Regions from separate parts of the Homo sapiens genome. Here all the other regions are linked to region 3. Evidence: promoter capture Hi-C in 16 types of primary human blood cells and fetal thymus (Javierre and others, 2016). All regions are on one chromosome and are shown on one strand. Each heading gives the region's core, a stretch centred on a gene start or on the middle of the fragment in contact. The rest is flanking DNA. Distances are from core to core; before and after follow the strand shown.

Region 1 (3,222 bases), core at 224-2,723, 270 kb before region 3:
ACCTGTGGAGCTCAGAGCCTGGGCCCCTCCACTGCTCCTCTCCTAGGCCAAGGACCCTGGGGTCTGGGCTGACATGCGAGCCGCTGGGGGACTCTGGGCTTGGCTGTGGCCCCTGGAAATGAAGTCCCTTCCCTTAGCCCCAGATAACCCAGGGGTGCTGGCCCCCTGCATAGACACAGAGTCCCAGTTAGGAGCTGGGGATAGAAGACAGCTAAAGGGGACTAAGAGAGAGAGGTCAGAGTGAGAGAAATAGGACCATGGGGAGAAACACATTAACAGGAACAGAGAAACAAGGGAAAAAGAGACAGGATGAGAGAGACACAACTGTAATAGAGACACAGAGGAGTGGCACACAGAGACCACCTCCCAGCTGGAGACAGTCAGGAAGGACTGAGGGAGAGGGGACAGCCAGGGCTCCACACCCAGGCAAGAATGGGGGAGGGCCTGTGGAACAGAGAAGTCATCAACACACACAGTTCAAAGTCTACCCTAGGCTAGGAGGGGGAGCAGGAAGAAGGGGCAGGGACGCAGGGGCCCGGCCTGCGAGCTCCCTGTTGGCCTCTGCTGCCCCCTGCTGGCTCCCGCTGCGGTGCTCAGGCAGGAAGAGAGGAGGCTGCTGTGTTTAGGCCCAGGACGCTCTTCATTCCCTTTGCACACCACCCACCAACCACTGCCTGCCCCACTCCCTGTCCCCCACTTCACAGAGTGCCCCCAGGGCCAGCAGGTGGTGCGGGTGTCTTGCCCGTGACCTTGTTGGCACAGTCCAGCAGGGCGGTGTGAATGTCCTTGGCACAGGAAATCTGGGCTTTGATGACCGCCAGGTACTGTGGGTAGGGGAGGCTGTCAGGCTGCACTGCGTCGGGCTTGGTGGCTGTGGGCACCAACGTTGGAGAGTGCTTGGCACTGTCACAACTCTGTGACAGGCACTCATGCGCCAGGCGCTGTGGACAGGCAGGCAAGGGGACAGCATCAGCTCCACCCGAGGTCATTCTACCCCACCCCAAGGGCCAGCTGGGGGTTGTCGGCTTGGCCTCTGGATTTCCCAGGTCTTAGAGTCAGAGGTTGGCCCTGCCAGTCATTTGCTGGGGAACCTGGGGGCATGGCGGCTACTCTTCTCTGAGCCTCAGTTTCCTCCTTTGGAAAACGGGTTTAATAACCACCTCTTCCTACCTCATAAGGTGAGAACAGTGAGAGCAGGTGTATGAGACACAGGCACGGGTCCTGGCACACTGTTTAAAGTGCCAAGAACTGTTAGCTACTATCATTGTTACTGCCCTGGCTCCAGGCCTGGTGTTGGCAGTGGCATCTCACCCCTGGTTTTCTGCCTGCTTCTCTGGCTGCTCTAGGTACTACTTTCTTTTTTTTTTTTGAGATGGAGTTTCGGTTTTGTTGCCCAGGCTGGAGTGCAATGGCACGATCTCAGCTCACTGCAACCTCCGCCTCCCAGGTTCAAGTGATTCTCCTGCCTCAGCCTCCCGAGTAGCTGGGATTACAGGCACCCGCCACCACACCCGGCTAATTTTTTTTTTATTTTTAGTAGAGACAAGGTTTCACCACATTGGCCATGCTGGTCTCAAACTCATGACCTCAGGTGACCGACCCGCCTCAGCCTCCCAAAGTGCTGGAATTACAGGCATGAGCCACCGCGCCCAGGCTTTTTTTTTTTTCTTTTGAGGTGGAATCTCGCTCTGTTGCCCAGGCTGGAGTGCAGTAGCACGATCTTGGCTCACTGCAACCTCTGCCTCCTGGGTTCAAGTGATTCTTCTGCCTCAGCCTCCAGAGGAGCTGGCACTTCAGGTGCATGCCACCAAGCCTGGCTAATTTTTGTATTTTTAGTAGAGACGGGATTTCACCATATTGGCCAGGCTGGTCTCGAACTCCTAACCTCGTGATCTACCCGCCTTGGCATCCCAAAGTGTTGGGATTACAGGCATGAGCCACTTGTGCCCGGCCCCTTTTTTTTTGGAGACAGTCTCGCTCTGTTACCCAGGCTGGAGTGCAGTGGCGCCATCTTGGTTCACTGCAACCTCCACCTCCCGGGTTCAAGAGATTCTCTTGTCTCATCCAAGTAGCTGGGATTTCAGGTGCACGCCACCATGCCTGGCTAATTTTTGTATTTTTAGTAGAGACAGGGTTTTGCCATGTTGGCCAGGCTGGTCTTGAACTCCTGACCTTGTGATCTGCCCGCCTCAGGCTCCCAAAATGCTGGAGTTACAGGCACAAGCCACCGCGCCTGACCAGCTCTAGGTACTTCTTACACTACCTAAGACGTAAGTGCAGCCATTCCTAGGCCCTGTCTTCTCTCACTGTTCAAGCCCTCCCAGGGCTGTCACACCCACGCACACCACTCAGTTTCCACCTCTGCACTAATGGCGCCCACACTGTCGCTGGCCTCCCCCTGACATTTGTAGGGCCCTTGTACTCCCCAAAACTGCTTCTCCTAGGTCCCTGTTTCGGGGACAGTCCTCCTTTTTTTTTTTTGAGACGGAGTCTCGCTCTGTCACCCAGGCTGGAGTGCAGTGGTGCGATCTCGGCTCACTGCAAGCTCTGCCTCCCGGGTTCATGCCATTCTCCTGCCTCAGCCTCCCTAGTAGCTGGGACTGCAGGCGCCTGCCACCACGCCCGGCTAATTTTTGTATTTTTAGTAGAGACGGGGTTTCATCGTGTTAGCCAGGATGGTCTCGATCTCCTGACCTTGTGATCCGCCTGCCTCGGCCTCCCAAAGTGCTGGGATTACAGGCATGAATCACCGGGCCCAGTGACAGTCCTCCATTATAAACCAGAGTCCTGGGCCTCATCCTAGAAACTTTATCTCCTTCCAGCACACCGGTCCTGTGGCCCATATACAAAGCCCTGCACACGAAGCCTCTCAAGTTCCCCCAGTCTTCCCCATTTCCTCACGACCCCGCCCTGGTGGAGCCCAGTCCAGGCGTCCTTGGATCCTGCCATGGCTGCGCCCTTGGGCTCCTGCCTCCAGGGTTCAACCTCCCCTCATTTGTCAGCCAGAGGTATATTCCTAAAAAGCAGATAGGTCCATATTCTTCCCTGCTTGAAACCCTCCATGCTTCCCCAGTGCCCTTAGGATTATATTCAAAATCCAACAAGCCCTATGCCTACCACACCTCAGCCAGAATGAATTACTTGATGTTCCTAAAACAAATTTAAAGCAAATGTTATTCCCTCTGTTTGGAACATGGTTCTGACACTACCAAGCTTCTCAAC
Region 2 (3,317 bases), core at 505-3,004, 410 kb before region 3:
ATTTCTGAAGGCCAGGTCTCCCTGAGATGGACACGCAAGTTCCTGATGACCCAGCCCAGCAACTAATCCCAGTTCAAAGGCTTCAAAATGGCCATGATCCAAATCACACTGGAAGAGAAGCAGGCCATCTTCCTGCAGTCCATAGCTCTGTTGTTGTCCCCTTGAAGTTACCTTCCAGAGAAGTCCTTTCTTTTGTCTTCTGTGGAATATCACAAATGTGCTTTTTGAAGCATATATGTCACATGTAGGAGAACTCCATCTCTCCAAGAGAACTGTAGAAACAAAGTAAGGTACACGTGAGTCAGAATGATTTCCAACCCAATCAGCTCCCAGACACGACCTGTGATAGGTCAGAATTTTTAGATGGATCCTCCTGAAGTTCAATTGCCAGCAACTCTCATATTTGGATTCCAGCTAAATTCAAAGGATTTTTTTTCGAGACAGGGTCTTGCTCTGTCATACAGGGCTGGAGTGCAGTGGTGCAATCATAGCTCACTGCACAGTCCACCTACCAAGCTCAAGTCATCCTCCCACCTCAGCCTCCTGAATAGCTGAGACTACAGGTGCACATGCCACCATGCCTGCCTAATTTTTTTTTTCTGTAGGGACAGGGGTCTCACTATGTTGCCCAGGCTGGTCTCAAACTCATGGGCTCAAGCGATCCTCCCACCTTTGCCTCCCAACTTGCTGGGATTACAGGCATGAGCCACTACACCCAGCCACAGCTGACTGATTTTAAATGGAACATAGACTTTCACGTTTTGGGTTATCATCAGGATCAGAGCTAGCCACACAGAAAGGCTAACCATATCATTAGAGAGTTGGGGCTTGGAGCCATGTGATATCAGGTAGGAGGCTGGAGATTGACTTCAACAAAATGGACGATGGTTTAATCAAGCATGCCTAGGTAGTAAAACCCCAGTAAAAACTCTGGACACCAAAGCCTGGGTGAGAGTCCTATGTTAGCACTACCCCCACACTTATTGCCACACATGGACGACAAAGGGTAACACATCCCTAGGAACACAGGAACTTCACATTTGGAACCCTCCCCATCCCAGATTGTGCCTTATACATCTCTTCTAATCTGTGTCCTTTGCCTGTAATAAGCATGACTGTGAATATAACAGATTTCAATGAGCTCTGGGAATTATCAAACCTAAAGGTGGTTTTGGGAAACCCCCAAACTTCCAGTGTCAAAATATTACTTACAGGCCAGGCCGAGTGGCTCAGGCCGGTAATCCCAGCACTTTGGGAGGCCAAGGCAGGATGATCACTTGAGTCCAGGAGTTCGAGACCAGCCTGGGCAACATAGTGAGACCCAATTTCTACAAAAAATAAAAAATCAGCTGGGTGTGGTTGTGTGCACCTGTAGTTCCAGTTACTCCAGAGGCTGAGGCAGGAGGATGGCTTGAGGCTGGGAGGTCAAAGCAGCAGTAACCGAGATCGCACCACTGCACTCCAGCCTAGGCGACAGGGCGAGACCCAGTCTGAAAAAAAAAAAAAAAAGACAGGAGCTGGAAAATGACCGTATAAGGAACTTTACATTAATACTGAAGTGGTTGTAATTTAAGATACCGCGCAGTCCGCAGGTCCTCAGGCGCTCAGAGGACCAGAGGCGGCTACAGACGTAATGGCTACTCAGGACCGCTAGGGAACGCTAGAGGATTGGCCACCGTGCTTACGCATGCGCACACTCTGGCACGCACAGCGTTTACGCGCTCACTGAGACTCGCGCATGCGCAGGTCTCGCATACAGCAGTGCAGTGCCGTTATTCCAGTCTCCGTAGAAACGCTGGGACTATGGCGGAGCCGACTGGGCTGTTGGAGATGTCCGAGCTCCCCGGAGATAGCAGTGTCCCACAGGTGGGCACCGCGAGTGGCGTCAGCGACGTACTGCGGGGGGCAGTCGGCGGCGGGGTTCGGGTGCAGGAGGCTCGGGAAGGCCCAGTGGCCGAAGCTGCGCGGTCCATGGCGCGGATGCCGGGCCCTGTGCCCGGGCCCATCCCCAGCAGCGTCCCGGGCCTGGCCTCCGCGCCAGACCCCCATCAGCAGCTCGCTTTCTTAGAAATTAACCGGCAGCTGTTGTTCCGCGAGTATCTGGATGGTAGCTCCATGATTCCGGTCAGATTACTACGGGATTTCGAGGAACGCCGCAGGCTGTTTGTGGAAGGCTGCAAGGCGAGGGAAGCAGCCTTTGACGCGGATCCCCCGCAGATGGACTTCGCTGCTGTCGCGTTTACGGTAGCGCTGACTGCCTCCGAGGCCCTCAGTCCTCTGGCCGACTGAGTCGGCTGTGATGATGACATTGGTGGCAAGGAATAGCCAAGTGACCCTTTTGGGATCAAAAGAACAGGCAGGCTGTGCCAGTTTAGTTAACTCAGTCATTAGGGGGAATGCAAACTGGAAGGGAATACGGCAATGTGCAATTGAAGGAGGAAGCACACTCCGAAATGGAAACAGACAAGACTGTTGAATCTTGTTTTCTTTCTTCTTTTTTAGTATTATTTAAATAGAGAAGGGAGTCTCGCATCCCTAGGCTGGTCCCGAACGCTTGGACCCGAGCGATCCTCCCGCTTCGGCCTCCCAAAGTGCTGGGATTACTTTACAGGCGTGAGCCACCGCGCCCGGCCGAATCTTGTTTTCAAACAGGTCCCAAGACACTTCTGACTTAGCACTTTGTTAGCAATGCATTTTCCTGCATTTGTGAAGAATCCTTCATGACTTTCACCATAAAGGATGGTTTTGCAAAGATATGAGAAAAAAAAAATGCCAATAACAGAACCCATAGAAATGAACCTAAGTGATGAAAGAAAACAAAGAAATAGAGTTGTCAGGAATCCAGGTGTACCTGAGTTACTAGGATTGGAAGGCTATTGAGAGGACTTTGAAATTTCACAATTTGTGGTCATGTCAACAAATCCTAGTGTAAGATTCATATTTGTGTTTTCTGAGGTACTTTAGATGAACAGTAAATATTCAATAGAAAAAACCACGTATTATATGATCAGTGTTTTCAAGTCTATGTGAAATTGGGTAGGTGTGGAATAAACTTGTTTTTTGTTAATTTTAAGCTTTTTATTTTATTCTAGAATATGTATTCTATTCACAAGACTCAACAAAAAAAAGTATCGGCCGGGCGCACTGGCTTACGCCTGTAATCCCAGCACTTTGGGAGGCCACGGCGGGTGGATCACCTGAGGTCAGGAATTCAAGACCACCCTGGCCAACATGGTGAAACCCCATCTCTACGAAAAATAAAAAATTAACTGGGTGTGGTGGCACGCGCTTGTAGTCCCAGCTACTCGGGAGGCTGA
Region 3 (3,454 bases), core at 505-3,004:
GGACCGAGGCAAGGAACCCCACAGAGCAATTCCACCATGCACCCTAATAATTAAGGTAAGGAGGGAGGTAAGGGCTGGTCAGATGAGAGAAAAAGAGCCTGCAGCAAGGCGAGCCAGGGTGGTCCCGGGCCAGCTGAGAGTGAGCGACCCGTCAGTGAGAGAGGGCAGGGTGGGGAAAGGATTCCCAGCAGAAGGAACAGGAAGGTCAAAGACCGGGCGGGAGGCATGGGCCTGGAGTTGGAGAACAGTAAAGGGGCTGGGGAGAAATGGGCAGAGCCATAAGAAGTGAGGTGGGAGTGACTAAGGACCACAGTGAGAGCTTAGGGTTTTAAGAACAGTGAACACCCCGCTCTGCCCAGGGTACCACCCAGGGACACTCTCCCCAGTCAGAAGCCCGTCGGACTCCCTTGCTCGGACTCCAGACCACCTACAAACACCCTACTCCCATAGGCTCACAGGAATCTTCCCTGCCAGATCACACCCTTCCAAGGAAACCAAGCAGACAATCCGATCCGCCCAGGGAGTGGCCCAGCCCTGCCCAGCCCCCTGCTTCCAGGAGAGACCTAATGGCTGGCAGCGGACAATGTGGCGACCAGGGGCAGGAGCCCTGGAATCACCCAGGCCCAGCTTCGATTCTAACTCTGCCTTCAGCAGAAGCTTCTGAGCCTCATTTTTCCCGTCTGTAAAGTAGGTTCATCTTGAGCACTCACTTCACAAGATTGCAGCAGGAGTGAAATACGACCGGGCACACAGGGCGTGGAGCACAGTGTGAGCCCTCATTAAACATTAACCGACATTATGATGATTTGAGAGGCGGTCGGCCAGAGCAGGGCTCTGGGCCAGAACTCCGGAGTTAGAATCCCAGCGCACAACTTATGCATCGGGTGACCTTGTGCAAATCACTTAACCTCTTAATACCAGGTTAAGACCCCCTAAGACTATAGTGAGGACTGAATAAGCTCATACAAGTAAAGCGTTAAAAAGAGGGTCTAGCCCATAGTGTTTCATGAGTGTTTGCCATTATTATTTGTGGGAGGGTTCCCCCTTCTCCTGTCACCAGGAAGCATCTCTGACCCGGCCCCCCCCCCCCCCCCCGTCCCCCGCAATACGCCCTCCTTGGGTTTTAATTTTTGACTCTGGGAAACAGCTGCCCCGCTGTCAGATTCTCACCTTTGTACCTTCTAGGCACGCCCCAGCTTTGAACCCCTAAAAGACGCCCCCGAACCTAAAACTCATTCATCTGCTCCGCTAGGGGCAGCTTTAAACCTCCAACCTGGCGCCCCTGGGGCTGTGACCTCTGACCCTCGTGGGGGCAGCCTTCCCTCAAATTATTAACTTTGACCCTGCCTTTTTTGAGACTCGCCCAGAACCCCTCGAACGCGCCCCCACTTCGAATTTCAAACTTTGCACTCCCCTTCGCCACGCCCCCTTCGCTGGTTTGATCTCCGACCTCCACTACAACTCCCTCCAGTCTGCGTTAACCCCCGACCCCTCGGACGCGACCCTTCCCTCCACCAGTGACCTTTGACCCCGGCGGCCCCGCCCCCCTCCTCGCGGAAACGCCGTCCCGCCGCCAGCGCCCGGCCCACCGCAAGCCCCTGGCCGGACCCCTTATCCTACCGGCTCGGCGCCGCAGTCGCTCGCGGCCTAACTGCTCGACCTGGAACTCCGCGCCCTCGCGCCTCCCTCAGCTCTCTTGCACCGCCACCACCGCGGACACTCCCGCCGCCATGTTGAATCCCCAACGAACATCCGGGGCTTTCCCCCCTCACCGCCCACCAGTCCCCATAGCAACGAGGCTGACCGGGCAGTGGGCAGGGCCAGTGCGGGGGCGGAGTCGGGCGCCTCTCAGGGCCCGCTCCAGCCTCCGATTGGTACAGAGCGTCCAATCGGAGACCTTCGGGCAGAAAATGCCAAGCGGGGATTGGAAATTTTGGAAAAGGTGCGGGAAGGCTGGCTCCCGGCCCACTGAGGTCCTTAAAGGGGAAATGACTGTTTTCGTGTGATACCGATTTTCTAACTTCCCCCCCAGAAGGAGTTAGGGGCTGGGAGAAAGTAATGAGTTAATGGGCAGAAACAGTTCTTAAGCACTTACTAGGAGGCAGGCACCGGGATAAGTGTTTTACTTGCATTTTCTCGCTGCATATACAACCCTGTGGTATAATATCATTAATACCCATTTTACAGATAAAGAAACAGAGGTTCAGAGGGTGAAATAGCTGGCTTAGCATCATAGAAAGAAGGTAATGAGTTTTGAACGCTGGTCTGTCTGAGCCCGGGAACCTGAGACTGTTTGCTCTTCAATTTTTAAATAAGTTTTTACGAAGTAATTGGTCAAAATATTGAAAACAAACAGCAGACATCTTCTTTAAAAATTTTTTTAAATTTTATTTTTACTTATTTATTTGTCTTGAGATAGAGTTTCGCTCTTGTTGCCCAGGCTGGAGTGCAATGGCGCGATCTCAGCTCACTGCAACCTCCGCCTCCCGGGTTCAAGAGATTCTCCTGCCTCAGCCTCCTGAGTAGCTGGAATTACAGGCGTCCACCACCACACCCAGCTAATTTTTTGTATTTTTAGTAGAGACAGCGTTTCACCATGTTGGCCAGGTCGAACTCCTGACCTCAGGTGATCTATCCGCCTCGGCCTCCCAGAGTGCTGGGATTACACGTGTGAGCCACCAAGCTGGCCTTTTTCTTTTATTTTTAAAGAGAGAGTTTTGTTGTGTTGGCCAGGCTGGTCTCGAACTCCTGGGCTCAAACTATACTCCTGCCTCGGCCTCCCAAAGTGCTGGGATTGCAGGCGTGAGCCACTGCGCCCGGCCAGACATCTCTCCTCCTGGATCTTATTCACTGGACTCCAGCCTTCATGCTGTTCCTGAACTCTTGTCAGGTGCGCTCTCACCTCACAGTCTTTGCACTGGTTGTTCCTCTGCCTGGAACATACTCTTCCCCCAGGTATCCTTATCTCTCCCTCCCTTTTTTCAGGGCTTTACACAGATGTCACTTTCTCTGTGAACTAATTCCCTCGCTCACCCTAAGGAAAGCAGCAAACATCCCTCTCACATACTACCAAACTCTGTCTGCTTTGTTCTTATTTCTCACTCCTAATTGTAGTTATTGCTTGTTGGTTGTCTCCTCTGCTGGAATGTCAGCCCCATGACAACATGGATTTCTGTCTTTGTTCACTGCTGCATTCCCAGTGCCCCAGCACTGTTGGCATGTAGATGCTCAGTAAACATTGGTGGAAGGGCTGTTTGAATGCGTGGTAATTCCACCCCTTCAGAGATACTCTTAAATGTTTGGTGCTTCTCCTCTGCCCCAGAACAGCCACATAGTAGGCATTTAATTAATTTCTACTAATGTCGGTGGCAACAATGAATGAATGATTGAATGATGAGTTAATTTTTCTTTATGTTTACCTATCTTTTTTCTTTTTATTTGTTCATTCGTTTTT
Region 4 (3,270 bases), core at 89-2,588, 380 kb before region 3:
CGCCCGGCCACTAATACATTTTTTTTTAAAGAGACAGGATCTTGCTGTATTGCCCAGGCTTTAGTGCAGTGGTGTGATCATAGCTCACTGCAGCCTCAAACTCCTGAGCTGAGGCGATCCTCCCGGCCTCAGCCTCACAAGTATGTAGAACTACAGGTGCGCCACCAGGCCTGGCTAATTTTGTTTTAATTTTTCGTATAGGGGTCTCGCTGTGTTGCCCAGCTGCTCTCCAACTCCCAGCCTCAAGCAATCCTCCTGCTTCAGCACTGATCTCACTCAGTGGTTCAGTGGGATTACAGCCGTGAGCCACTGCACCCAGCCATAAATTCTTTTATATTTAAAGCAGTTTGAGTCGTTTCCGACCCCTACAACATAAAGAGTCCTGTCTACTATTCTCCTCAGGAGACAAAATCTCTTCCCCTCAGCCCCAACATCAAATACAAAGCATTCAGCCTCGTTAGTCAAAACTGATCACAATAATAGCCTTTATAGGTGTTTCTAGAGAGATGGGGTGAGAAAAAATAGGATATAAATAACCATTATTTACAACTTGCAACAGTAAAGTTCCCCCAGACACCCCTTCAAGATTGAACTCCAAAGCCTCTGGGGCAGAGACTGGGCACCACCGAGCAAATACAAAAATCCACGCTCTGACTCCAGGTGCGGATGGAGGAGACGCGTCAGGCCTAGAAACAAAATGAGTAGGAAGCATTAGAGAGGCTGCCCCTCTGCCTCCCCTGCCTCCCCGCTGAGTACAATCAGTGGAAAAGCTCTGGCGGAGTCGGCATCGTGACCTCCTCAAGCCCATAGGTTTTTCAAAGAGAAGATGGCAGGTAGCTCAAAACGATAAGAGGGATGCAAAATAGGATGAAAGTAAGTTAGAACTGAAAATGGGCTTAAAACCTTCCAGAGACTCTACCCAATTCATTTCACGGACAGAATCGAGGAAGGGTAGGGAAAAAGCAGGTGCTGCCTCTGCCCAGCGCGCCCAGTGTGTAGCGGGGGGAAAAGGGGCGTCGCTACCTCCCGAGCGTAGATGGAAGGAGCAGATATGACATAAATCCCTTGAGGGTCTACATCTTCAGGGCGATTCCAATCTACGGACGAGCTGTGGGAGGAGAGAAAGAAGAAAAACTCAGACTCTTTAAATTCTCAGATCTTGTTTTCCCCTACCCATCACAAAGGGGAACCCAAAACCAGCTACCGGGGTAAGAGAGACCGACCAGGGAAATGCATCAAGGAATCGGGCCAACTGCACCACGGAGATGGGTAAAAGCAGCCAGCAGCGCAAGGCGTTCGTCTGTGGCGCAGCCCCTCACCTCGGACCATCCCCGGAACCCTCCTGCGTCCTTAGGTTGTTGAGTGCATCCGGGAGTGCGTGGACTGACGGCTCCGGGGTCCCAGCCAGCAAGCGAGACCCAGCATCCTGGGAGTGGCCACGGCGGCGCACGTGGACCAGCAAGAGCGCAGCGCCGGCCACGCCCGCGGCCACGAGCAGTCCCAGAGCCGGAGGCAAAAGGTAGCGCTGAGGGTCCCCGGGCCTGAGGCCCGGCGGGGCCGCGGGCAAGGCGCTTGCGCCGTCGGGGTGCACTGGGAACTCACACCGCGCTCCCATGTAGCCGGGAGCGCAAGCGCAGACGAGGCCGGAGAAGTGGGCGTAGCAGCGGCCGCCGTGAGCACAGGGGCGCGCGGCGCACGGGTCCGCGCGCTCGCGGCAGTCGCGGCCGCCGAAGCCCAGCGCGCAGGAGCAGCGGTGCGCGCCGCCGCCCTCCACACACGTGCCGCCGTTAGCGCAGGCGCGGCCCGCGCAGTCGTCCAGGTCGTGCTCGCAGCGAGGACCCGCGAAGCCGGCGCGGCAGCGGCAGCGCAGGGCGTGGCCCAGGTCCAGGCAGAGTCCGCCTGTGGGGAAGGGAGCATCAGAGGGCGCAGTCCGGGAGCCGGGGACCCACCTGCCCGCGCTGTTTCCCAGCTCTGTCATCGCTGCACGGGGTCCCCTTTTTCTCTCTAACTTAAGGGCCAGCGTCTTGGAGTGTGCCAGGAAAGCCAGCTCGCTTTTCTTCCTAATGAAGTTTTGGAATAATTAATTCAGCTCCACCTCTTTGGCTCTCGGTGCCCTTGTCTCTTTTTCCTTCGGCTTCGATCATACTTCAATAGTAGACAGCTCCCAGAACTACGTGTTTGAACCCTCTGGCCTTCCTCTGCCTAGAATACCCCTCCTCTCTTCCCTTCCTCCTTTTCTCACATTTTTTCCCACCTTTTCTCTTCCCTAGCCCACCCCTCAGGTTTCTACTCCGATGCTCCTTCCTCCATCCCAGCCCTGATCACTGCCCTGTGCTCCTACATCACAGCCCTGACCACCCACCCTGGGCTCTGTCTGAGGGTGTCTGTCTTCCCCTCTGGGCTGGTTCCCCCAGGAGGGTGCGGCCCAGAGATGTCCTGGTCGGTGCTGAGTCCCTAGTACCACACACCCCAGAATGAACACTCAGTGTTTGGGAGAGAATTATTGTATTCACTCGCAAGAAGATACACAGCCAGCCCTTTACATTCATGATCTTTTTTTTTTTTTTTTTCGAAACGGAGTCTCGCTCTGTCGTCCAGGCTGGAGTGCAGTGGCGCGATCTCGGCTCACTGCAACCTCCGCCTCCCGAGTTCAAGCAATTCTCTGCTTCAGCCTACATTCATGATCTTACTTAATCTTTTTTTTTTTTTTTTTTTTTTTTTTTTTTGAGACAGAGTGTCACTCTGTCGCCCAGGCGGGAGCGCAGTGGCATGATCTCGGCTCACTGCAACCTCCGCCTCCCGGGTTCAAGTGATTCTTCCGCCTTAGCCTCCCGAGTAGCTGGGATTACAAGCACCTGCCATCACGCCCGGCTAATTTTTTGTATTTTTAGTAGAGACGGGGTTTCACCATGTGGCCCGGGCTGGTCTCCAACTCCTGAGCTCAGGTGATCTGCCCGCCTCGGCCTCCCAAAGTGCTGGAATTACAGGCGTGAGTCGCCGTGCCGGGCCGCATTTAATCTTTTAGCACCGATATCAGGTCTCTTCTCTCCTCAGAACCTTCCTGTGGCTCCATCTCACTCAGGGGAAAAGTGAAAGTTCCCCTTCTTGTGACCCAGGGGGTCCCACAAGATGTGCCTCAGTCACCTCCCTGACCTCATCTCAGTATAACCACACTGGCTTCCCTGCTTATCCTCAGCACACCAGGCACCTCAGCTCTATCAGGCAGGGCCAGGGACTTTGTCTGTTTCATTCCCTGCTGTATCCTCAGTG
Region 5 (3,430 bases), core at 931-3,430, 510 kb after region 3:
GATCTTGGCTCACTGCAACCTCTGCCTCCCAGGCTCAAAAAATTCTCCTGCCTCAGCCTCCCAAGGAGCTGGGACTACAGCCATGCGCCACTGGGCCCAGCTAATTTTTGTAGAGACAGGGTTGTGCCATGTCACCCAAATTGGTAATTCTTTTTTTTTTTTTTTTTTTTAAAAAGAGGGGTCTCACTCTGTCCCCCAGGCTGGAGTGCAGTGGCACTATCATGGCTCACTGCACCTTAATCTTCCAGGCTTAAGCGATCCTTCCACCTCAGCCTCTCAAGTAGCTGGAACTACAGCCACACACCGCTACATTAATTTTTAAATTTTTTCGTAGGGTTGGGTCTCGCTATGTTGCCATGGATGGTCTCGAACTCTTTGGCTCAAGTGAGTCTCTCGCCTCAGCCTCCCAAAGTGCTGGGATTACAGGCATGAGCCCCTGCGGCCACCCTAATTGATTTTTTATTATTATTTTTGAGACGGAGTTTCGGTCTTGTTGCCCAGGCTGGAGTGCAATGGCGCGATCTTGGTTCACCACAATCTCCGCCTCCTGGGTTCAAGCAATTCTCCTGCCTCAGCCTCCCGAGTAGCTGGGATTACAGGCATGTGGCACCACGCCTGGCTAATTTGGTATTTTTTAGTAAAGATGGGGTTTCTCCGTGTTGGCCAGGCTGGTCTCAAACTCCCTACCTCAGGTGATCCGCCTGCCTCATCCTCCCAAAGTGCTGGGATAACAGGCGTGAGTCACCGCGCCCGGCAATTGATTTTTCAAAAACCATCCCTCCTCCTGTCCCAACTTCCTTGGCTTCCTAGTCTTGCACACCAAGAGATGCTGCATTGTTCAGGATACTACCAGCCACCCCCTTGCCCTGTACTGGGAGTGGCACCCTGCTAGTTGCTGCAATGGGAGTGTAGACAGAGAGCTAGACACTTACAGCTTCAGGACAGCCAGGTTGGCTTCCAGATCATAGGCATTTTCCTTGGCCTGCGTCTCTACATAGCGCTCCAGGGTGGCCAGGTTCTCAGGATTGTACCTAAAGGAGAATCAAGATAGGTGAGCACAGAGGAGACAGAAGCTGAGGCCAGCCACCTTATGGAGCAAGGGGCCACTGTAACCTGCTCCTCCCGCCCTTCCCCTCTAAATCTGGCACTGGCCACTTGCTCTATCCAGGTAGTGAATTATGTCCAGTATAATCTCTAGTAAAACTTATTCTTATCCCAGACCTCTCGCCTAAGCTCTAAACTCCACTGGAGCCCTGGCTCTTCCCTAGGATGCCTCCTCAACCTCTGAGCCAGTCAGTCACTGCAGCTTGTACACCTGGCCTCCTGAATGTCTCTGCTACTCACCCCTTCCTCCCCTGTTCAGGCCTCCACCCTGATCCAGCCCCATCCTCTCCTGCCTACCTCGCTGCCTACTTCCTCCATGTCCACCTGAACACTCTGGCCTTTGCTTCCCCCATTTCAGTTCTAATCTCTCCCGGCTATCGCTGTCTGCTGTCAGGTTTGTCTCCCTTATGGAAAGGGAACTCAGACCGTGAAGGCATGATCTGCCGCTGTCTGATTCGCCTGTGGTTCCCAGCATTGCCTAGCACTGACAGTTTATTTCAGTAAACGTGTGGAGAATGAATGACTTATAGAGCAGAGAAGGGAGAGATTAAGAGGCACTCAAAGGAGGCGGAGCAGAGAAGGAAACCTTAAGGCAATTTACGAAGAGACTGAGTGGTACCAAGATTCTCTCGCTTCTAGGCCTTTGCAGTGCTTTTGTTTCTTTCTTTTAGAGACGGGGTTTGGCTGTTGCCCAGGCTGGTCTCTAACTCCTGGGCTCAGGCGACCCACCTACCTCGGCCTCCCAAAGTGCTAGGATCACAGGCGTGAGCCACTACCCCCAGCTCAGTGCCGTTTCTTTAAGCATCTCCTCCTCCAGGAGGATAGAGAAACCCCACCCCGCGGCAAGCCCAGGACCCTGAACACCCCTTGCTGTCTCCGGAAAACCCTCTCCTCCGCCCCGCTTGGCCAGAGCGCTTCCTCCAACCGGGCTCAGACCTGTCGATACCCTTGAGCAACTTGCCCACGTTGGCTCTCATCTGCTCAAACATCGCCATGACTTCTGTCGCCTTCCACAACCAGGGCTGGAGGCTAACACTGACCCGGCACGGCGTCCTCAAGGACGGGAACAGGAAGAGGTGGTGGAAACGGAAACGACGTCGTTGTTGTCGCTCCAGCTCCTTGGGTGCGGTAAAGGGAAAGGCTCTAGCAGCAGCCGCCACGCTTTCCGGCTGCCACGTGACTTCTTCCTCGCAGGCGCAATTGGCGCGTGCGCATTCGCGCCACTCAAGCTGGACAGACAGCGTGAGAAAAATCTTACTGGATCCCAGTGCGCAGGCGCCTCTCGTGGCGAGGGGGCGGGGCTAAGCTTTTCCCGGGCCTCACAGACCCAGTTCCAGTGCCGGTAGCGCGGGAGCGTGCGCGCGCGAACTCACCGGGAAGCACCCGGAGCTCTGGCGGCGTGCGCGCGCGTTGTATTGCGCGCGGCCATGAGGCCACGGAGCTCTGCGGGAATGCACGCAGCAGCCTTACGTTTAGGCCATGGCCAAGTTCCGAGGGAGGTGTTCTGAGGTCCCTCTTGCCACAGGCCTGGGCGCCTGGTGCAGGATCCTGAGCTCTCCAGTTTCAAGTCTCAGCCCTTGGTCCCCAGCTCCAGGAGGAGGGTCCCACAAAGCTACTGTGCTCTGCCGGGCAGGGGCTGGGGTGAGGGCTCCTGGACTTCGCCGGATCGCGCCCCGTCTCCATTAGGTTCCGGTCTTGGAGCTGAGGGCGAGCGTCCCATTTGTACTGCCATGAATTATATATTATGTATAGGTTTTGTACACTGCAGGCCTACAAAATGCAGTTATGTGCCATGCATGTGGAGGTATATGTCCTGGGTACATCCACGTGTGTACTGTGCACACAGGTATCCAGGCAGATGCACGTCTACACGCCTGCGCAGTGCAGAGGAGGTAACCCAAGTGCATGTATGTGACAGGTGAACAGGCATGTACACTGCATAGCCATCCCTTTGCAGACCTGCCGCCTTCGGGTTGTGGCCAAACCTTCAAGCACCCAGCAGAGGTTTAGACACTACCTAGGAGACGGGGGCGGGGGTTCTAAGGCACCCCCCTCCAACCCAGTTACGATTAAGATCATTTGCATCACATTTACATCCAGCCCTGGGCCTTGGAGGTTGAGGGTGGTCCCTTGGGTCCCAAGACAAGCTGCCCCTCAGAGGCTCTCAGAGCCCAGGGGACGGGGGGGTGGAGCCCGTTGCACAGTCGTGCAGTGCAGCTGGGGCAGGAAGCGAGAGTGAGGAGGGGGGAGGCCACAGCCCGCGGAGGCAAGGCGGGTGCAGGGCTTCTGGGGACGGAGGGAGGTGCCAGAAGTTGAGCCCTGAGGC
Region 6 (3,196 bases), core at 450-2,949, 300 kb before region 3:
GATGGCTGGGGTTGGGCCAGAACCCGAGGCCGGCGGCGCGGGGCATTGGCTGATGCCCGAGTCTCCGCCCGCTGCATCTGCTGGATCCGCTCGCTGTAAAGCCGGGCCAGCTCTCGCACTCGGGACGCCGTCCTTTCTGAACTCGGGGCTCCTGCCTTCCCGCTCCCGCTGTCTCCACCCAGATCCGAATCCTCCAGGATCAGCAGTGGCTCTGGGAAGCCTGGCCGGGCCAGCTGTCCCTGTTCCAATGCCTGCCAGGCGCTCCGGATTTCTGAGCAAGAGCGGAATGCCAGCTCATCTGGGAATCCCTGATGTTGGGTGACATCCTGGGGCTGGAAGTCTGTGAATGATACCCCTTCTTCATCCTCCTCTGGCCCTGCCTTGCCTCCTGAAGGCGGCTCTCCCAGTTTCCCAGGATTGCTCCCAGAAAACAGTTCTCTCCTGGTGGCTGGAGCCTCAGCTGGTTCCTGCAGAGGCCCTTGGAGCCAGGAGTCACAGGAGAGGGTGGGAGTGCTAGACAGACTGGGGGTGTTGGGGACACTAGGTATGGCTGGAAGGCAGGGCATCTCAAAAACATCGGAAATGTCAGAGAGACTAGGAAGGCGAGAACCTTCGGGAATTTCACAGCGGCTGGGAATTTCAGGAAGGTTGGGCACGTCAGGAATTTTGGTAAGGCAGGGAATGCTGGGCATTTCAGCTGCAATGGAACTTTCGAGCCCTTCCAGGACGTGGAGTGGGGAAGGCCCCCGTTCATCCATCTCCAGCCCTTCCTCTTCCTCCTCCTCCTCTTCTGAAGAGTCCCGGCTGGGCAGGGCTTGGAATGTGAGGGTTTCGCTGTCGCCAGGCACCTGGGAGTCTCCGGGGAACTTGGGAATGTCATGGGTGGACGGCTATAGTGGGCACAGGAGAACAAGCCAAACATATCAGCATGGTAGCTGGGTGTGGTGGCTCACGCCTGTAATCCCAGCACTTTGGGAGGCTGAAGTGGGCGGGTCACTTGAGGTTACGAGTTCGAGACCAGCCTGGCCAACATAGTGAAACCCTGTCTCTACTAAAAATACAAAAAAAAAAAAAAAATTAGCCGGGTGTGTTGGCGGGTGCCTGTAGTCCCAGCTACTCAGGAGGCTGAGGCAGGAGAATCGCTTGAACCTGGGAGGCAGAGCTTGCAGTGAGCCGAGATGGCGCCACTGCACTCCAGCCTCGGCAACAGAGCAAGACTCCATCTCAAATAAAAAAAAAATAAAGGTATCAGCATGGGCTGGCCTATCTGGTCCCTGGTCTGTGTGCCCACACCCAGAGGCCCAAGGACACCATGATGGGACAGCCAGCTCACCCCTGGATCTCGAAGGCCTCGCTGATTCAGCAGTTCCAGGATTTCTTCAGTGATTGAGGTCCCAGAGGGGTCCAGTGTTGGGGGTCCAGCATCCTCCAGGTCCTCAGGGGGTGCAGAGCCTGAAACTGGTGGCTGAGATTCTGGAGGGTAGAGTTCCCCTTCGCTGCCAGCGTGCTGTGAGGAGGGAAAGCAATGGAAGGCAAGAGCCAAGACTCCTCCCTCACATAGAGGACCCCAAGTCCCAATCCCCTTCTTTTGCGTTTGTTTGTTTTGAGATGGAGTCTCGCTCTGTCGCCCAGCCTGCAGTGCAATGGCGCCATCTCTGCTCACTGCAATCTCCGCCTCCCGGGTTCAAGCGATTCTGCTGCCTCAGCCTCCTGAGTAGCTGGGATTACAGGCGCCTGCCACAATGTCCAGCTAATTTTTGTATTTTTAGTAGAGTCGGGGTTTCTCCTTGTTGGCCAGCCTGGTCTCAAATTCCTGATCTCAGATGATCCACCTACCTCGGCCTCCCAAAGTGCTGGGATTACAGGTGAGCCACCGTACCTGGCTCAATTTTTAAATTTTTTTATTTTTCTCTTAAAATTTTTATTTATTTATTTGAGACAGGGTCTCACTGTGACCCATGCTGGAGTGCAGTGGTGTGTCCCAGCTCATTTTGCAACCTCTGCCTCCCAGGCTCAAGCAATCCTCCCACCTCAGTCTCCTGAGTAGCTGGGACTATGGGCATGCACTAGTGTGCCTGGCTAATTTTTTTGTACTTTTTGTAGAGATGGGGTTTTGCCATGTTGCCCAGACTGGTCTCAAACTCCTGGGCTCGAGCAATCCTCCTGCCTTGACCTCCCAAAATACTGAGATTACAGGCATGAGTTACTCTGTCTGGCCCCAATCCCCTTCTCATTCAGACCCAGGATTTTGGAACTCAAGCTCCCTTCTCCATCAGACCCAGAAGTCAAGGTGCCCAGACCCTATCTCGAGATATCTCTTACCTTGAATCCAGGCTTAGCTAAGGATGGAGAGATGAGAGAGAGAGAAGCATTAGTGAGATGTAAGGGAAAAAGAGTGATTCCCCCATAACTGATGAGCTGAAGCAACCACCCCTCCCCAACCCGCCCCAGACATCCCACCGGGCGACAGACAGGGATGGACCAGGCTGAACCGGGGCAGTCACTGACCGTTCTGTGGGAACATGACATAAGGGTCCTTCACCGGCTCTGCGGGGAGGACACAGTGATGTCAGGAGCCCAGCTCCCACCCCGATGCCTGGATCACCCTTAGGGGTGAGTGCTCACCAGACTGCCTGCGGCCTCGGCGAATCACAGAGGGCCCAGGAGATGGAGCTGTGGGAGGGAGGGCCAGAGCCCTGTGTGAGCCCAGCTCCCGGGTCCTAGGGAAGTGGGGCTGAGGGCTGGGACTCAGGGATCCACCGCCTTTACCTGTGTTCCTTCGCCCAGGGGTAAAACTTCTAGCATCTCGAGGTCGAGGAGACCCAAGTGGGGGTGTCAGGGGCTCTAGGACAGGCTTACTTTTGGGGGCACCTGTGGGGAGAGTTTTGGGGCTAAAAGCCAACTTTTTCTTGGAAGTAATTCGTCTACTTCCACACCCTCCCAGCCCAAGGCCCCAACTCACAATGCAGGCTGTTTTCAAGGAGAACTTGCTTTGCCTGAAAGACAGGAGGATGAGGGCTGAGGTGGGTCGATCTTGGAGTACCACAGAGAGGATACTTTAAGCACCGTAGTCATGCCCATTAATGGGTGCTGTTTTTGTTTTTAGATCTTGCTCTATACGCCAGGTTGGAGTACAGTGGTGCAATCATAGCTCACTCCAGCCTCTACTTCTGGGATCAAGCGATCTTCCCACCTC

Evidence for each region. The method cuts DNA at HindIII sites, captures the fragments that hold promoters and counts their contacts. A CHiCAGO score of 5 or more calls a contact.
Region 1: a contact is called between a fragment that was not itself captured here and the fragment with the promoter of PAK4 in region 3, in 13 of 17 cell types (total CD8 T cells, naive B cells, fetal thymus and 10 more). The highest score is 9.6, in total CD8 T cells.
Region 2: the fragment with the promoter of EID2B here is called in contact with the fragment with the promoter of PAK4 in region 3 in 12 of 17 cell types (naive B cells, total B cells, monocytes and 9 more); the score reaches 15.4 in naive B cells.
Region 4: a fragment that was not itself captured here is called in contact with the fragment with the promoter of PAK4 in region 3 in 4 of 17 cell types (monocytes, naive B cells, fetal thymus and 1 more); the score reaches 6.2 in monocytes.
Region 5: a contact is called between the fragment with the promoter of EIF3K here and the fragment with the promoter of PAK4 in region 3, in 3 of 17 cell types (naive CD8 T cells, naive CD4 T cells and erythroblasts). The highest score is 6.4, in naive CD8 T cells.
Region 6: a fragment that was not itself captured here is called in contact with the fragment with the promoter of PAK4 in region 3 in 1 of 17 cell types (fetal thymus); the score reaches 6.5 in fetal thymus.

What each region holds. Positions count from the first base shown.
Region 1 is chr19:39,395,176-39,398,397 of GRCh38, reverse strand. It overlaps MED29 (mediator complex subunit 29), which reads right to left. Exons shown (of 4, transcript NM_017592.4): 4 at 1-941. The coding sequence ends at 699. Among named protein-coding and RNA genes, the nearest start is that of MED29, 5.4 kb to the right of the region's middle. RefSeq lists an enhancer at 28-77. The HindIII fragment of the contact is 3,484 bases long and covers 1-3,215 here.
Region 2 is chr19:39,531,289-39,534,605 of GRCh38, reverse strand. It overlaps EID2B (EP300 interacting inhibitor of differentiation 2B), which reads left to right and starts at 1,754. Exons shown (of 1, transcript NM_152361.3): 1 at 1,754-3,317. The coding sequence starts at 1,804. The coding sequence ends at 2,289. It also overlaps the pseudogene CRIPTOP7. The HindIII fragment of the contact is 7,702 bases long and covers 1-3,076 here.
Region 3 is chr19:39,124,086-39,127,539 of GRCh38, reverse strand. It overlaps PAK4 (p21 (RAC1) activated kinase 4), which reads right to left and starts at 1,754. Exons shown (of 10, transcript NM_005884.5): 1 at 1,621-1,754. The HindIII fragment of the contact is 5,933 bases long and covers 660-3,454 here.
Region 4 is chr19:39,505,668-39,508,937 of GRCh38, reverse strand. DLL3 (delta like canonical Notch ligand 3) reads right to left here. Exons shown (of 9, transcript NM_203486.3): 7 at 1,320-1,899; 8 at 1,024-1,108; 9 at 469-686. The coding sequence ends at 681. Among named protein-coding and RNA genes, the nearest start is that of SELENOV, 7.8 kb to the left of the region's middle. RefSeq lists silencers at 1,368-1,517, 1,698-1,797. The HindIII fragment of the contact is 8,029 bases long and covers 1-3,270 here.
Region 5 is chr19:38,617,938-38,621,367 of GRCh38, reverse strand. EIF3K (eukaryotic translation initiation factor 3 subunit K) reads right to left here and starts at 2,180. Exons shown (of 8, transcript NM_013234.4): 1 at 2,041-2,180; 2 at 933-1,031. The coding sequence starts at 2,099. MAP4K1 (mitogen-activated protein kinase kinase kinase kinase 1) reads left to right here and starts at 3,415. Exons shown (of 31, transcript NM_001042600.3): 1 at 3,415-3,430. RefSeq lists an enhancer at 2,842-2,891. The HindIII fragment of the contact is 6,969 bases long and covers 1-2,412 here.
Region 6 is chr19:39,420,426-39,423,621 of GRCh38, reverse strand. PLEKHG2 (pleckstrin homology and RhoGEF domain containing G2) reads right to left here. Exons shown (of 19, transcript NM_022835.3): 12 at 2,963-2,996; 13 at 2,770-2,871; 14 at 2,626-2,673; 15 at 2,509-2,547; 16 at 2,323-2,339; 17 at 1,334-1,507; 18 at 1-890. Among named protein-coding and RNA genes, the nearest start is that of PLEKHG2, 9.4 kb to the right of the region's middle. The HindIII fragment of the contact is 7,366 bases long and covers 1-3,196 here.